6 separate regions of the Homo sapiens genome follow, and regions 2, 3, 4, 5 and 6 are each linked to region 1. The links are contacts of gene promoters, found by promoter capture Hi-C in blood cells and fetal thymus (Javierre and others, 2016). All regions are on one chromosome and are shown on one strand. Each heading gives the region's core, a stretch centred on a gene start or on the middle of the fragment in contact. The rest is flanking DNA. Distances are from core to core; before and after follow the strand shown.

The links. Contacts are between HindIII fragments. The CHiCAGO score rates a contact against its expected background, and 5 or more counts as called.
Region 2: a contact is called between a fragment that was not itself captured here and the fragment with the promoter of HIGD2B in region 1, in 1 of 17 cell types (naive CD8 T cells). The highest score is 5.5, in naive CD8 T cells.
Region 3: a contact is called between a fragment that was not itself captured here and the fragment with the promoter of HIGD2B in region 1, in 2 of 17 cell types (M2 macrophages and naive CD4 T cells). The highest score is 6.2, in M2 macrophages.
Region 4: a contact is called between a fragment that was not itself captured here and the fragment with the promoter of HIGD2B in region 1, in 2 of 17 cell types (total CD4 T cells and naive CD8 T cells). The highest score is 6.0, in total CD4 T cells.
Region 5: a fragment that was not itself captured here is called in contact with the fragment with the promoter of HIGD2B in region 1 in 6 of 17 cell types (naive CD4 T cells, non-activated CD4 T cells, total CD8 T cells and 3 more); the score reaches 8.5 in naive CD4 T cells.
Region 6: a fragment that was not itself captured here is called in contact with the fragment with the promoter of HIGD2B in region 1 in 1 of 17 cell types (naive CD4 T cells); the score reaches 5.2 in naive CD4 T cells.

Annotation. Positions count from the first base shown.
Region 1 is chr15:72,684,905-72,687,457 of GRCh38, reverse strand. HIGD2B (HIG1 hypoxia inducible domain family member 2B) reads left to right here and starts at 1,276. Exons shown (of 3, transcript NM_001350932.3): 1 at 1,276-1,640. BBS4 (Bardet-Biedl syndrome 4) reads right to left here and starts at 1,251. Exons shown (of 16, transcript NM_033028.5): 1 at 1,207-1,251. The coding sequence starts at 1,230. The HindIII fragment of the contact is 12,662 bases long and covers 827-2,553 here.
Region 2 is chr15:72,265,451-72,268,003 of GRCh38, reverse strand. It overlaps PARP6 (poly(ADP-ribose) polymerase family member 6), which reads left to right. Exons shown (of 24, transcript NM_001323532.2): 3 at 333-529; 4 at 1,182-1,259; 5 at 2,013-2,107; 6 at 2,531-2,553. The coding sequence starts at 527. Among named protein-coding and RNA genes, the nearest start is that of PARP6, 5.8 kb to the left of the region's middle. The HindIII fragment of the contact is 4,663 bases long and covers 1-2,553 here.
Region 3 is chr15:73,093,090-73,095,642 of GRCh38, reverse strand. The region is part of intron 1 of NEO1 (neogenin 1); the gene reads right to left. Among named protein-coding and RNA genes, the nearest start is that of NEO1, 42 kb to the right of the region's middle. The HindIII fragment of the contact is 3,259 bases long and covers 1-2,553 here.
Region 4 is chr15:73,075,760-73,078,312 of GRCh38, reverse strand. All of the region lies in intron 1 of NEO1 (neogenin 1), which reads right to left. Among named protein-coding and RNA genes, the nearest start is that of NEO1, 25 kb to the right of the region's middle. The HindIII fragment of the contact is 867 bases long and covers 835-1,701 here.
Region 5 is chr15:73,048,581-73,051,133 of GRCh38, reverse strand. No RefSeq gene overlaps it. Among named protein-coding and RNA genes, the nearest start is that of NEO1, 2.6 kb to the left of the region's middle. The HindIII fragment of the contact is 1,546 bases long and covers 508-2,053 here.
Region 6 is chr15:72,370,339-72,372,891 of GRCh38, reverse strand. The region is part of intron 1 of HEXA (hexosaminidase subunit alpha); the gene reads left to right. Among named protein-coding and RNA genes, the nearest start is that of HEXA, 4.4 kb to the left of the region's middle. The HindIII fragment of the contact is 4,935 bases long and covers 1-2,553 here.

The sequences.
Region 1 (2,553 bases), core at 27-2,526:
TAATTTTTGTATTTTTAGTAGAGACGGGGTTTCACCATGTTGGCCAGGATGGTCTCAAACTCATGACCTCAAGTGATCCACCCGTCTCGGCCTCCCAAAGTGCTGGGATTACAGGCGTGATGCACCGCGTCCGGCCTAGCTATTTTAAATTTCTTAGCTTAATAAAAATGTTTCGGCCGGGCGTGGTGGCAGGCGCCTGTATTCTCAGCTAATCCGGAGGCTGAGGCAGGAGAATTGCTGGAACCTGGGAGGCGGAGGTTGCAGTGAGCCGAGATCGCGCCATTGCACTCCAGCCCGGGCCGACAACAGCGACACTCCGTCTCAAAAAAAAAAGTTTCTGTCTTCAGAGTTTTCTAATTAGACTAGAATAATATGACTACTCTGCAAATGAGAGTAGAAAACAAACAAAAGGCCCTCTAACAATAACACTAACCTTGCTGCTTAGCCAAAACTAAGTTGTAAAACAGCCAAAGGCTGCTATTTGTACTGTTTTCCAGGGCGTTTTTCGAAAGACAATAAATTCCGAATACCTAAAATCATTCTAACAAATGGACAGAACAGGCTTTCAAACCCAACACTAAAGCAAGGTAAACAAAGCTTCACACTTGGCACTTTACCGAAATTAGATCCAATTATAGATATATGCCTCAAAAAATAGCGACTAGGTCATCCTGAATTCATCGGGTTCCTCTATATTAGCAGTTCTGTGGAGTGAACGCCCAACTCAGCCTTCAGATGAATTCCAAAACCGTACTTTCCTAAACTTAATCACCACAGAAAAAACACAGTCCCGCTCCACTGGCAGAAGGCAGTGACGCTGCAAGCTTCCAGGCATGTTAAATTCCCAATTCACGGGATTAACAGGAACTGTCTACACAAGTGCTAGTCATTACCTTCCAAACCCCCGAGACAGAAAAAGATGGCACTACGGTAAGAGCCATTACTGGTGAAAAGTCTCCCTTCTCCGTCCAGCGCACCCCAAGAGGGACTACAGTCCTAGAACAGGACCTGTGCTGCTAAGTATCCAGACTTGCCCCAGGCGACCAGTTCCCGGGACAGTAAAAAGGGGACCGTGTCGCCCCGCCCACCCTGAGACGCTCGGCACCCAGCTCCGCCTCTCTCCAGGAACCGCTGCATGGGACAAAAGCCACCCGCCAGCTTGCCTTGCCCTGCGGCCGGGCAACTAAAGAGAATCTCGGCGCTCACCGTCGCGACTCTCTCCTCAGCCATTTTAGCTCAGCCCACCGCTGCGCGGCCGGAAGTCGGCGGTTTCCCAGACGACGAGGCAAGCGGAAGTCGTAGGGCTGTGGAGGACTGTGAGGAAGCGGGGGAAGGAAGTAAATCGCCGAGTGACCTAAGGAATCAGGGGGAGGATTAGGGTCTGCTCCACAGAAGGCTTACCTCTGAAAGAGTCGGGGAGGGAATGCGCAGCCACTCGCTGCCTTTATCCCGAGAAGCCCCTAACACCCCTCGCCGTGGTCTGTACATGGTCTGTACCTCCGGCCGCGCTGGCTGGTAGGCCAGCCACCTGGGATGGCAGCCTAGTTCTCCCGCCACCTTACCCTGCCCTGACTCTAATCTGCATTTAATTCAGTCCTTCTTCCGGGAGATTTCGGCGGAGAATTTCTTTCTCGCCTTAGGTACAAAACTCCCCGTTTCTTGGCTGTCACTATCGAACTGAGGTACTCACCTTATCAGCTTCCCACTCTTGTTTACTCCAGAGTTTGCAAACATGCTCCTGGTGGGCTGCATTTGAACGGCAGTCTTTTGATTGGAAATATTTAAAAGTTAGGAGATTTCACAAGAAATCGGCCATGGGATAAAGAGACGACAGTCGGCGTTTTCTGCAAGGCAGTGAAATAGATCTGAATAGCGGCTGCGACTGTAGATAACTTCCCTTCCTAACATACTTAAGGCGTTCTCCATTACCTGTCTGGCCCCCGGTGCGGTGAATTAAATGTTTAGTGTTTCTAAACTAGGAAAACGTGTGGGCTTTGGAATCAAACATGAGTTCTGAATTTGACTACTGCATGACCTAAGCCCGTCGTTTCTTTGAGCCTCATTTATTAAAGTGCCGGGAGCTGTGTGATGAACAAAACGGAGGATCCCTGCACCTGAGCACTGACATTAGCCCCAATTCATACTTTTAAGTCTCGCCCTTGTAATTTAGACATAAAATCTGCCTCTCCCAATTCATTAACTGGGAAAGCATTTAAGACAAGTTTCTCCAGGCCTCTAAGAGAGGGAGAACCCCACTGACAATTAGAGTTACATAGAAGAAACAAGTACGGTAATCTATCCAAATACAAGGGGAAAGGACAGCAATAGAATAACAGCTCTTCTAAGTATTTCAGTAACACTCTCTCTTTTAATCTTTATAACAATCCCATGAGACTGTTGGTCTCCCACTTTTTTCAGATAAATACTCTGCCTTTCATTTATTAAAAATAAAATTTTCCAGCTTGGCCAGCATGGTGAAACCCCGTCTCTACTAAAAATACAAAAAATTAGTCGGGCATGGTGGTGCCCGCCTGTAATCGCAGCTACTCGGGA
Region 2 (2,553 bases), core at 37-2,536, 420 kb after region 1:
GAGGCCGGTAGGTCACCTGAAGTCGGGAGTTCGAGACCAGCCTGGCCAATGTGGTGAAACCCCATCTCTACTGAAAATATTAAAATTAGCTGGGCGTGGCAGCAGGCACCTGTAATTCCAGCTACTTGGGAGGCTGAGGCATGAGAATTACTTGAACCCAGGAGGCGGAGGTTGCAGTGAGCCAAGATCGCGCCATTGCACTCCAGCCTGGGCGACAAGAGCGAAACTCTGTCTCAAAAAAAAAAAGTGTATTGATAAATACGTGTGCCTGTATATATACACCACCCAGCTATTAAGTGGTGATGAAACCCATTATTATCTACTTTCCACAGGACAGTGACTTGTTACCACCGCAACAGCAGAGCCTGCCATCCCCAACAGATCACCAGTTGTCCCTGACATCGTGCCCTACCTTGTCTCCCTTTGTGGTCTCCTAAATGCCCATCTCGTTGGCCTTGGTTCGGCTAGTGGTATGGAGGGGTGCTGCCTAGCACTGACCTGAGAGTGTGTGTGACCCACTGACCCAATGGTGAGAACTGACTGCCCACCTCTCCAACTGATTGTTCAAAGGGTAGAGGAGACAAAGTGCAGATCTCACCCTTTCTTGGTATTTTCCCTTCTACCCTTTTGGAAGATAGAGTGGCTATTTGAAGTTAAAGGAAAGGGAAGGGGCACAGAAACAGTATTACTTGGTGTGTTTGTGTAGTGGGTTTTCTTGGGGAGGGAGAGGAGAGTTAAGTACTTTAAAGGATAGAAAGAAAATAATGAGACAAGAGAGTTTAGGTGTGCTTGGGAACTGTCTTAGGTAATGATCCTGGAAGAGGCCAGCTTGTACTGGAACCCAGATATGCTTAGGAGTCAACCTTGACATTGAAGTCATTTGCATTTCTTTCCTACTGGCTACCAGAGCCTCTCAGTCATCATACTGAGACTTCAGAAGGCCAAAATTCCCTAGATGTTTTCCTCTGTCCCACTAAGAGCTAGTTTATGGATATGATCATATCAGGAAGAGACTGAGACTCTCACAAAGGGTGACATGAAAGGTGTAAAGGGATCAGGGCTTCAGTTATTCTATATTTCCCAATCTTTGTGGGAATCTGTTCCTCACCATATCATCCCACGCCTTTCCATGGGATAATAGGGACCTAACAAAGCATGATATCCTTATTTCTCACCACTAGGACATCAAAGGCCAGTTCTGGAATGATGACGACTCGGAGGGAGATAATGAATCAGAGGAATTTCTCTATGGCGTTCAGGTGAGGTTACATCTCCCAAGACCCCCGTGTTGGATGGTCTAGATATGTGCTGCTTTTTGGATACATCAGGAGTGAAAGAGGTTCTGGAGCACAGATGAGATGAGGTTATAATGTTGATGTGGTCTGAGCATGGTCTTGTCAGAGCTGATCCCGTGCCCTTGCTCTTTCTTTGGAGTCATACCTGTTCCAGAGTAAACTACATCCTCTGTATGTGGAGACTACCCATATCTTAATTAGACATAATTATTTTCTGACTTTTATAACACTAGCCAGTGGGGGTAGTTTCATTCATTAGGGTCACATCTTAAAAGATTACTCTGCCAGCGTTTGCTTAATGCCATCACTACCCAGGGCACAGTCCTGAGCAGAAGTACCCAGACTCTCAGAATGCTCTTCACTTAGAACCAATCTTAGGAAACCTGTAACTCTTCAGCCTGTTCTGAGTTGTCATAGAAGGTATCCTGGTCAAGGTCTGAGAGAAAAGCTGGAGATTTAAGGAAGTGAACTCCAAGCAAAAGCCTACATTTGGTCTGCTGAACCTTTTTAAAGTCATGATGAGATGGAGACCTCTGTTAATGAAATCCCTTGCTAGGGTCACCACTGAGAACCCCTTCACATAAGTGGCTTTTACTTCCCCTATACTGCTGTCTGATTTCTCCTGTTCCTGGTGTCTTTTCATATTCTTTTTATTATCTCTCTCTTTCCCTCGTCTTTTTCCACCTCTCTCCACCACCATTTTTGCTGCTATCTCAGGGGAGCTGTGCAGCTGACCTGTATCGACACCCACAGCTTGATGCAGACATTGAAGCCGTGAAGGAGATCTACAGTGAGAACTCTGTATCCATCAGGTGGGACTCTACTTCAGGGGTGGCAGGGGAGCAAGTCACTTCTTTCTGAGTTGTTAAAAGGCTAGAGGTTTTTCTTTTTATGGTATGATAGTGGGATAAATTATGAACTTAATGATAGAAAATGCTCAGAATAAATGAGCTTGGCTGAGAGTAGAGAGTAAGGCCACTTTTCTTAGGAATTCCCTCTTATCCTAGACCCCTCTGGGCCAGTAGTTTCACCTTTCAGGTAAGAAATGCTTTTGGCCTGGAAGTAGATCCTGATCAGGTAAGTGGTGTAAGGCTATAGCTAAGACCCTAGGTACAAAACTGTCATCCACTCTTCCCTTTCCCCTGTCCCCAGGCTCAGTTCTCTTTCCAACTCAGTTTCTATTCCCTTCTTTCTCCCTTAATGAGTCTCACCTGTTGTCACCTGTATCTCTATAGAGAATATGGAACTATCGATGACG
Region 3 (2,553 bases), core at 33-2,532, 410 kb before region 1:
ATGCTATAGAACCAAATCATCTTGAAAACTTTTCAAAAGGAAGAGGAAAAAAATTAAACATCTTTCCCCATCAAACTGTTCCTGGTGGCAATAAAATTGTTGGTGAAAGTTTCTGTTTATAGAAGTACTCTACCAAATAAATGAAAAAATGATAGATTATCACTATTTTGCAACTCCTAATGAATCAACAGCTCTAGGCAATAAAAAGTAAACGGTACAGAAGTCAGCAAATATTTTCTGTAGAGGGCCAGACAGAAAATATGTTAGGCTTTTCAGGCTACACACAGTTGCTGTCGCAAATTCTCCTTTGCTTATTTTTTTAATTCTTTTTTAAAAACACTTTCAAAATGTAAAAATCAACATTAGCTTATAGGTTATTTAAAAAACAAGCCAGAGACAACTGACCATTAGCTGTTAAGTTTTTTTTTTTTTTTTAAGACAGAGTCTCACTCTGTCGCCAGGCTGGAGTGCAGTGGCACAATCTCAGCTCACTACAACCTCTGCCTCCTGGGTTCAAGCAATTCTCCTGCCTTAGCCTCCTGAGTAGCTGAAACTTCAGGTGCACACCACCATGCCCGGCTAATTTCTGTATTTTCAGTAGAGACGGGGTTTCACCATGTTGGCCAGGATGGTCTCAATCTCTTGACCTCGTGATCCGCCCGCCTCAGCCTCCCAAAGTGCTGGGCTTATAGGTGTGAGCCACCGTGCCCAGCCTAGCTATGGTTTTCTAAACCCTGGTAGCTAATAGCAACAGAGAAACAGACCCAAACAGACATTACACACCTCTTGATGAAAGAATAAATTACCATCACCTATGTGGCAGTCCAACAAAACCCTGAAATGATCAAATCTCTAGATCCAACTAACAATTAAGAAACAAAAATAAAAATAAAAAAGACAGAGGAAGATGGTAAGAAACACCATGGGGAAGCAACCAGCAATATCCCAACCATGTGGAAATTCTTCTGGACAAATGACAAAGAAGAAAACAGGGAGGTGAAGAGGGGATAATTATCACTTAAAAGAAACTTAAAACGTATACCAATCAATTGTGTAGATACTAATTCCAATTCAAACAACAACAAAATCTTTAGAAAGGCTATTGTATAGAATATACATTGCAGCATTATTCATAATAGCCAAAAGGTATAAACACGCAAATAAACCAATGTCCTTCAACTAATGATTATATAACATGTATTATATCCAGACAATGAAGTTATTATTTGGCCATAAAAAGGAATGAAATACTAATACAAGCTACAACATGGACGAACCTTGAAAACATCATGCTAAGTAAAAGCTGCCAGGCACAAAAGATCACATATTATATGACTTCATTTACATGAAATATCCCGAATAGGTAAATCAAAAGAGTGTTATCTAGGACCGGGGAACATGAGAAATGGACAGTAGACTGCTTATGGGGTATAAGATTTCTTTTGGGGTGATGAAAATGTTCTAAAATTGATTGCGGCAATGGCTGCACATCTGTGAATATATCAAAAGCTACTGAGTTGCACATTTTAAATAGGTGGATTATATAGTATGTGAGTTATATCGCAATTAAAAAAAATAGTTATAGAAGGAACCAGGGCTCCTTGAAGGAATGGTTAATTCTAAAATTAGGCAAGAAATACAAATGATGAGTCTGGAGCATGTTGTAGTGCCCAAAGGTAAGGAAGTGCTAAAAACAAAACAAAACAAAAAGCACAATGATGGAGGTATGTCAATGAGACACCGGGGCCAAATTAAGGAGCTTCCGGCCAGGCACAGTGGCTCGTGCCTATAATCCCAGCACTCTGGGAGGCCAAGGCAGGTGGATTGCTTGAGCTTAGGAGTTCGAGACCAGCCAGGGAAGCATGGCGAAACCCTGTCTCTACAAAAAATACAAAAAATTAGCCAGGCGTGGTTGGTAGTGCACGCCTGTGGTCCCAGCTACTTGGGAGGTTGAGGTGGGAGGATCACCTGAGCCTGGGAGGCAGAGGTTGCAGTGAGCTGTAAGCATGTCACTGCACTCCAGCCTGGGTGACAGAGCACGACCTTGTATCCAAAAAGAAAAAAAAAAAAAGGAACTTCCCATGGTCAAAGCTGAAACAATTTAAGCAACAAAATAAAGGATTACTGGATTATAATCCAAAGTACAAAATAAATACCCATGAGTTCATAATATACAGTTGAAAGATTTTTAAATGGAGAAAAAAGACAAATACCCCATGCAGAAGAATTCCAAATAATTCACATAGAAACACCACCCTCTACGAGGGAGAACATAATTCCCCACTCCTGAAGTGCAGGCTGCCCATGGTGACTTTCTTCTCAAAAGAGTACAGTATGGAAAAAGGTAGGTGACTTTACCAGGGAGAACTTGACAAACACAATCTCAGCCAGGTGATCAAGGTCAATGTTAATAGTGATACATCATGTTGATATTATGTATCAATGCCTTGAAATGGTGTGATGGCACTTTACCTCTGTGGTCATCCTTCCAAAACCATAAGCCCCAGTCTAATCCTGAGAAAAACATCAGACAAATCCTAACAGAGAAACATT
Region 4 (2,553 bases), core at 19-2,518, 390 kb before region 1:
ATTGTCAATATCCTTCTCCCTGCTTCTCCTGCAGGGATTCTCTAGCTTACTTGAACAGGGAACACTTTCCCCTCCCCTAATATAAAACTATTAAACTACTAGATTAGAAGAACAATGGTCCATGAAACACCAACTTGGGTAAACAGCCTAGACTGAACCCACTCTTCCAATTCACAGTATACACCACTGTCAGATCAAGGACGCTTCTTTTCTATCCCTTTCTTGTGCCACTTCACATCACCACCCTAAACCTCCAAGTAAATTACTTTCTGTTGCCCATATCACCAATGCTTTCCCACTTCTGGATGTTTGCTCATTATACTTCCTCTCCCGCTTCCCATCGCCATAGGTCTGTCTCCACTGCTAAGCCAGGGCCAACATCCTGCGCAATGGACAGAGGAACCATGTACCCAGCCTTCAAGATCTATCAAATTCTATCATCCCATAAAGCTTACACTGAGTTGCTTCATGGAAGTAACCTTCTCATTTTTAGAAAACCCAAAGCACTCTGCACCCCTTTTACAGCATATATCACCTTCTCCTCAGCAGTATTATTTTTACGTATGATATGCCATTTGTTAGACTGGTAACTTATTTCTCCCGTTACCTAGCACAGTGCCTCATACATAGCTGCTCAATAAATGCTTGTTGAATGAATAAATGAGTCTGAGAATCTATTTCCCATCAGAGAATCATAATTAGTTTTTGCTAAACACAGTTAAATAGACTGGACTTCTCCTTCAGAGAACACAAACTATTTGAAATTGCCAAGAGCTACATCTTAAATCAGAGAAAGTCACTGAGCTGTACAGCAGAACTTCATTCACACAAGCTTCCTTGTACTTACTTGTTTATGTGTTCTTCTCTGTGAAACAGGCCTTTATACTGCCAAAACTGAGTAGGGTGGAGAACATAACTAGTTTAATTTGTGTTTAAAAATATGCAGTCAATTAGAATGTAGTTATGACAACCTGAAAACGGTGGCTCATGCCTGTTATCCCAGCACTTTGGGAGGCCGAGGTGAGTGGATCACCTGAGGTCAGGAGTTCAAGACCAGCCTGGCCAACATGGCAAAACCCCATCTCTACTAGAAATACAAAAATTAGCCAGGCGTGGTGGCGGGCACCTGTAATCCCAGCTACTCGGGAGGCTGAGGCAGGAGAATCACTAGAACCTGAGAGGCAGAGGTTCTGGGGAGCTGAGATCATGTCACTACACTCCAGCCTGTGCCAGAGAGAGAGACTCTGTCTCAAAATAAATAAATTAATTAATTTAAAAAAATTGCTATGTTATTATAAGATATCACTATCCTACAGTTTTCCTCTAAATAATCATAGAATATGTTTCTGAACTTTTTCTGATAACTCAGTTCTTCCACAGAAAGTGCCTTACCTCCTACAATAATCCCTGGAGAGAAGAAGGACCTAAGAAAACACAGTTGTCTTATAAACCAAAACATGATCCTTCTAAATCCTTGAAGAGGAACAGCAATGTTGTGAGAAAGAGGAAAGGTAGAGATAAGAAAAGAAGGTAGCCTGAGCAGTAGCAAAATAAATGTGAGAAAGATCAGGCTTGCTTCCAAAGAAAAAAATCAGTTAACAAAAGACAGGGACTGCTTTGGGGTGTGAGGAGGTGGGTGGGGAGAACATGCTGAGGTTGGGGGAGTTGGAAATACAAACTTAGAATGAAGTTACTTAAGCTTTGCACTGTACAAGATCCCAGGCCTTCTCCAAATGCCACACCACTCAGAGGTCCTCTCATGCTTACTGTCAGTACCTTCTATTTATCTATACAACCAATACTTACTGAAAATCAACTATGGGCCTGGCACTCTTCTAGGCACTGGAAAAATAGTAAGTAGCATTCATTTAGCAGAAAGGACAGAGATATGACATTGTTACTTAACTTCTTTAGGTCCTTCAGTCTCCAATCAGATCGTAAACCTTTTGAAGGTAGGACCTCTCAACTAGATTACAAACACCTTAAGAGCAGGGTAAAAATTATATACTAAATGTCATTTTCTTCACAGTCTCTGCGTATCTAAAAATATCACAGAATCTATTCATGCCCCCATATTGCTATTAATAAAAATGAAAATATTCATCGTGGCTGTTTGCAGGCAATGTTATACCATCACAAACCAAAAGCAGACAAAAGGGAGATCTGAGCCGCACCTTAATTCTTGGTCCTTTGTACTTCTATTAATTCCACTGGAAACATCATTTCACGATCTCCCTCCCCATATTTCTATTCTCTCCTTCCATGCTCAACTGTTCCCTAAATTATTGCAAATATGAGACATTCATTCAAAACCTGGTGAACTTTGTGCTAAAGCTTAGCAAAAAAAGGAAATTCAAAACAGACAAAAATAGGTTACAACTTACAAAAGAATGTGGCATAATCCTAGTCACAGCTCAAGTAAAGTGCAACCTCTCTGGAAAAGAGAGGAAGGAAGGGGTTGAAGCAGATGATCTTGGGGGTCTTCTTCCAGTTAAAACAATTCTATGATTCACAAATTCTGACAAGCACACACACAAGCACACAGATTAAACA
Region 5 (2,553 bases), core at 31-2,530, 360 kb before region 1:
TTTCTCATAGTTACTTTCCAAAGATATTTTATTCTAAAGCGCCAAAATGAACAATGTAAGACATGGATTAACGTCGGGAGGGAAGAGCTCAGAATCTTCATAAAACCTTAAATCATCAAAACGGTGAAATTAGGAATTCTCATGCTAGTTCTTTGAAACAATTGACTTAATAGAGGAAACACATGCTTATGGTTTTTCACTAGGGAAACCATTTAAATACCTTTTTGTTTTGGTTAGAGTTGTTAACCAGCAAAAATATTTCCTAAATACCCGTGATTGACCTGTTAAATTAGAAATAGATTACCTCCCAATTACTTCACAAGTATTTGCTTAATTAACCTTTAATAATCACATCATTATTCAGTTTTCTGAGATAATTAATGAGAAAAGCTCTTTGAAAACTGTAAATTGCCTTGCAAATGTTAATTTCCTGATATCTTTTCTAAGTCTGGAAAAATTTCATTATATTAAACCTATAACGTGTAATATGACTTCTGAGATGAAGCTTACATTTATCTCCAAGTTTTGAAAAATACATGAGTTGTGGCTAATAACAGACTGATTTTCATATATGACTTATATGAACTGTCTCACTAATTTATCAGCCCACTGTGTATATCAGGTTAATATCAAAAAGTTTAAAACAGTTGTATATTTCTGGCTTCTGATTAAATCACAATTTTAATAAAACCCACTCTATTAAACCACTAGTAGATGGAGCCCCAGATTAAAGCTACAGATCCTAAATCAGTTCAAGATAGTTAAGTAACTCAGGCACACACTTGAATTCAGCTCCTTTACTTTGTTTCAAAGTCACTGACACTGTCGACATGCCCTTTAAAAATCATCATTGAGTAATTAACCTGTTCTTTGTTTAGTAAAGCATATCTGAGAAAAGATTTTCTTAGGCATCTCTTTTATCATTCTTATTCTCCCAACAAGATTTTCAACAAATACTTCAGCCTGCACGTATACTGCTAATCAACACTTTTATGTTGTCTAAACTATCAATCTATGAAGAGATATTAAACCACTGGTGAAATTAACAGTTTTTTCATCTAAGTAAAGTTAGAACATGAGGCCCATGTTCAAGGAATAAGTGCACAAAGAAACTTTAGAGCAAAGAAAACAGAGTGGCCATTGTGTGTCTGTAAAAGTTATCGAAATGCAGGCCAAAAATAACTAGACTGATATCTTGTGAAATTTATGCTAATGTATTTTGATATAAAAATTACATGAAATATTAAAGCCTATGAATATAAAACTTGGTAGGAATCTTATTCTCTATAGTAAAAGGATTTTTTTTTCAACATTAGAAAGGACGTACAATTCAGTGTTTAACTGCTGGCAGTAATGAGATTCTGCAGCTGATTCCCTGGCTGAATCCCAGTGTCCGAGGTTGAGAAGAAGAAAGCTAGTCCCCTGACTAGCAGATCTCAGGATAGAACACTTCCTAGTCACAGCAGACTTCAACTAGAAGTTGCCCCAGTCTTAAGAAAGTGATTTTCTTCTGCACAGAGATTGTTATTTTTATATTTGCCCTTTACATTCCACTAGGTAAGAATTTTTATTTTCTCCCGTTCTCCTTCAGAAGCCACCTGCTCTAGGGAGCCATCTCTGATTAAGCGTAATTAAAAAGGATGTGTGCTCCTTTTTAAGTACAAGCATGCTCAATATTAATTTTGCTTGTCACATGTTGCTTAGTTGATCACATATCTTTAGTTCAACAACAATCTATTAATTCAGCAAAAATTATTGAGGACCTGTTTTCACCAAGTATTGTGCTGGATGCTGGGATAACAAAATTATTGGTTCATTCATTTAATATTTATAAAGTACATCCTGTGTCTCTGGTCCTGGCTTATGTTAAGGGAAGACAGTGATGAGCCAGATAAACAAAGTTCCCAGTCTAGCAGAAAGGGTAAACAATTATAACAAAGAAGTGTAAAGACTGTTATGGTAAGGAAAGATAAGGAGTGTGGGAAAACTTAGTAAGAGCATCTAACTTGACTAAATTGTGTGTGGGGGTGGGAGAAGGAGAATTAGAGAAGCTTTGGCCTCTAAACAGAGACCTGAAGGTAGATAGGAGTCAGCCACGCCTACAGGTGGGATTTGACCTCAGATTTGCGTTTTAGAGGGAACACTGAGGCTGCTTCTTGGAGTGTAGTTTGGAAGAAGTCGAGACCAAAAAAAAAAAAAAACAGTTCAGATTTTGTTACAATAGTCTAGGGAGGAGATGATGGTGGCCTGGAGTAAAGCAAAGGGGATTAAGAAAAGTGAACAGATAAGAGAGAGATTTAGGAGATAGATAGAAACAGCAGGGGTGTGTGGGAGAGATAGGAGATGTGGGTAACTCAGATTTCAACTTGGGAAGCTGAATGAAGGTGGTGGCATTCACTGAGGGGGGAATGAGAAAGATGAGCAGATGGGAGACAATGTTAGTTTAACTTTGGACAAGGAAATTTAAAGTACCTATGCATACATAGGTACTTTAAATACATCTGAGTAGAAATATCAGTAAGCCGTTCATTACTTGGATCTGGAGTTTAGCAG
Region 6 (2,553 bases), core at 38-2,537, 310 kb after region 1:
CAAAGTCCTGGGATTACAGGGTGGAATGAGCCACCTGACCAGCCCAGTGTTTTTCCTAATGCAATACAACTTCTGGTTTTTGTCTGAACCTGAAACTAAGAATTCATACTCCCTTTTCTGAAAAAGAAGTCTGGTATTGAGGTTCAGTTCTATTTTGAATTCACCTTCAAGGGTTAGTCCCACCAGTTGCTAAATGGTCTGTGAAGGTGTTTAGTATTTGCCACCTTTCTTTGTCATTGAGAGGTGTTTCTACCAATTGGAGGGTGTGTGTTGCATGTTGTTGAACCTGTTAAATAGACTTATTTTAGGAACTAGATACTTGAATGAATCTAGTTCCCTGTTTGATTATTAAGCCACATCCTGTTTGCAAAGCAAAGATGTGATTATTTGGAATTTGGAATGGCACCCATCTAATGTTGCTCCAGACATTTAATAAGCATGGTGTGGAGCATGGTGCTTGATGGAGCTGATAAAGTCCAAATTTTTCCAAGTAAAGTGGCTAAGTCTAATTCTGCCATTAGACTGCATTTTTTTTTTTTTTTTGAGATGGAGTCTTGCTCTGTTGCCCAGGCTGGAATGCAGTGGTGTGATTTTGACTCACTGCAACCTCCACCTCCTGGGTTCAAGTGATTATCCTGCCTCAGCCTCCCAAGTAGCTGGGAATTCAGGCACCCACCACCATGCCTGGCTAATTTTTTATTTTTTAGTAGAGACGGGGTTTAGTAGCGATGGGGTTTCACCACGTTGGCCAGACTGGTCTCGAACTCCTGGCCTCATGTGATCTGCCCACCTCAAGATTACAGGTGTGAGCCACTGCACCTGGCCATGACTGCATTCTTCTTTGCTTTTCCTGAAACTGGTTGATAGAAGCCATAGTATATCATAGATATTATAAGGTTCCCATCCTGGTCTGATGTTCACCTGCACATCCCTGTGAGTTGCTGAGGATGCCATTGTCCTTCAACAGAATAATCCTGCCCCCCTTCTCCAGCCCTTTTATTCTGGAATGGAAGTAAGATTATTATATAAGAGCCTGTGTCCTTCTGCAGCCATTATCAGTATTTGATTTGCTCATCCTCAGATATTAAAGAAGTGACTAAATTAATAAATGGCATAGTTCATTATAATCTGGATCTCCTAAAATACCTTCTTTGGCCATTTCTTCTGTATCTGGAACGTTGTAGATATGTAGTAATTATTTGTAAAATATATTAACGTTAAAGAGCTACTTTGTGTAAACATTTGTAAGAAGGCTTTATGGGTTTGGGTTTTGTTTTCTTTTTTTTTTTTTTTTTTTTTTCTTTTAGAGACAGGGTCTTATTTTGTCACCCAGTCTGGAGTGCAGTGGCACAAACACAGCCCACTGCAGCCTCGACCTCCGAGGCTCAAGCTGTCCTCCCATCTCAGCCTCTTGAGTAGCTGGGACTACAGGTGCATAGCTAATTTTTGTAGAGATGGAGTACCACCATGTTGCCCCAGCTGGTCTCGAACCCCTGGGCTCAACCACTCTGCCTGCTTCAGCCACCCAAAGTGTTGGGATTACAGGTCTGAGAAGATCATCAAAAAGATATGATTTGCAGGTTTTCATTGAGGATTACCTTTCCTTTCAGGTTACCAATTTGGAGTGTAAGTGTGTGATTCCAGGCAAAGGATAATCACACTATGCTGCTTATTGTGTGATCCCAACTCGTGCTGCTCTTAACTCAGCATGCAGTGAGAGATGCATTGGGATTGCATCTAGGAGGGAAACAGATAAGGTCAAGCAGCTGGGCTGGGGAGAAAGAATAAGGCCGATTAGTTCTCTCCACTTTAATTGGGCTAGCGGCTAACTATACTTTAACCTTTCCCACGGCAAAGACAAGGCATATTCCTGCCAAAGATGATTGCCACTAAGTTTATTGTTTTAAAAGCAAAGAGGAAGAAAACAACACGGGAAGAAGGTTTTGTAGTAGAATTACTTTTTCTCATGAAGGGGTTTCTGGAGAACGAGGGATACATAGGAGAAATACAGTGATGAATAAATTGTCTTTAGAAAGAAGGTGATGGCAGAAGCACAGTTTTTAGTTGAAGGGCAAAATAAGTGTCATATTTCATTTTGAATCCCAGGGCCTAGATTAGCTTGGCCTGCAGTCTTCCACCAGCCTCTCTTCTCACAGCCCTGTTTTTTTCTTTTCTTTTCTTTCTTTTTTTTTTTAAGAAACAGGTCTTTCTCTGTCATTCAGACTGGAGTGCAGTGGTGTGATCACGGCTTACAGCAACCTCGAACTCCAGGACTCAAGCAGTCTTCCCGCCTCACTGATGAGTAGCTAGGACTACAGACGCATGCCACCGCACCCAGCTAATTTTTTTATTTTTTGCATTTTGTAGAGATGGGGGTCTTACTGTGTTGCCCAGGCTGGTCTTGAACCCCTGGCTTCAAGCGATCCTCTTGTCTCGGCCTCCCCGAGTGCTGAGATTACAGGTGTGAGCCACCATTTATTACCTAAAGCATGATACTTTTCTAGTATCCCTGTATAGTACTGAGTCCAAGAAGCTAAACTTGATCAAGGTGTA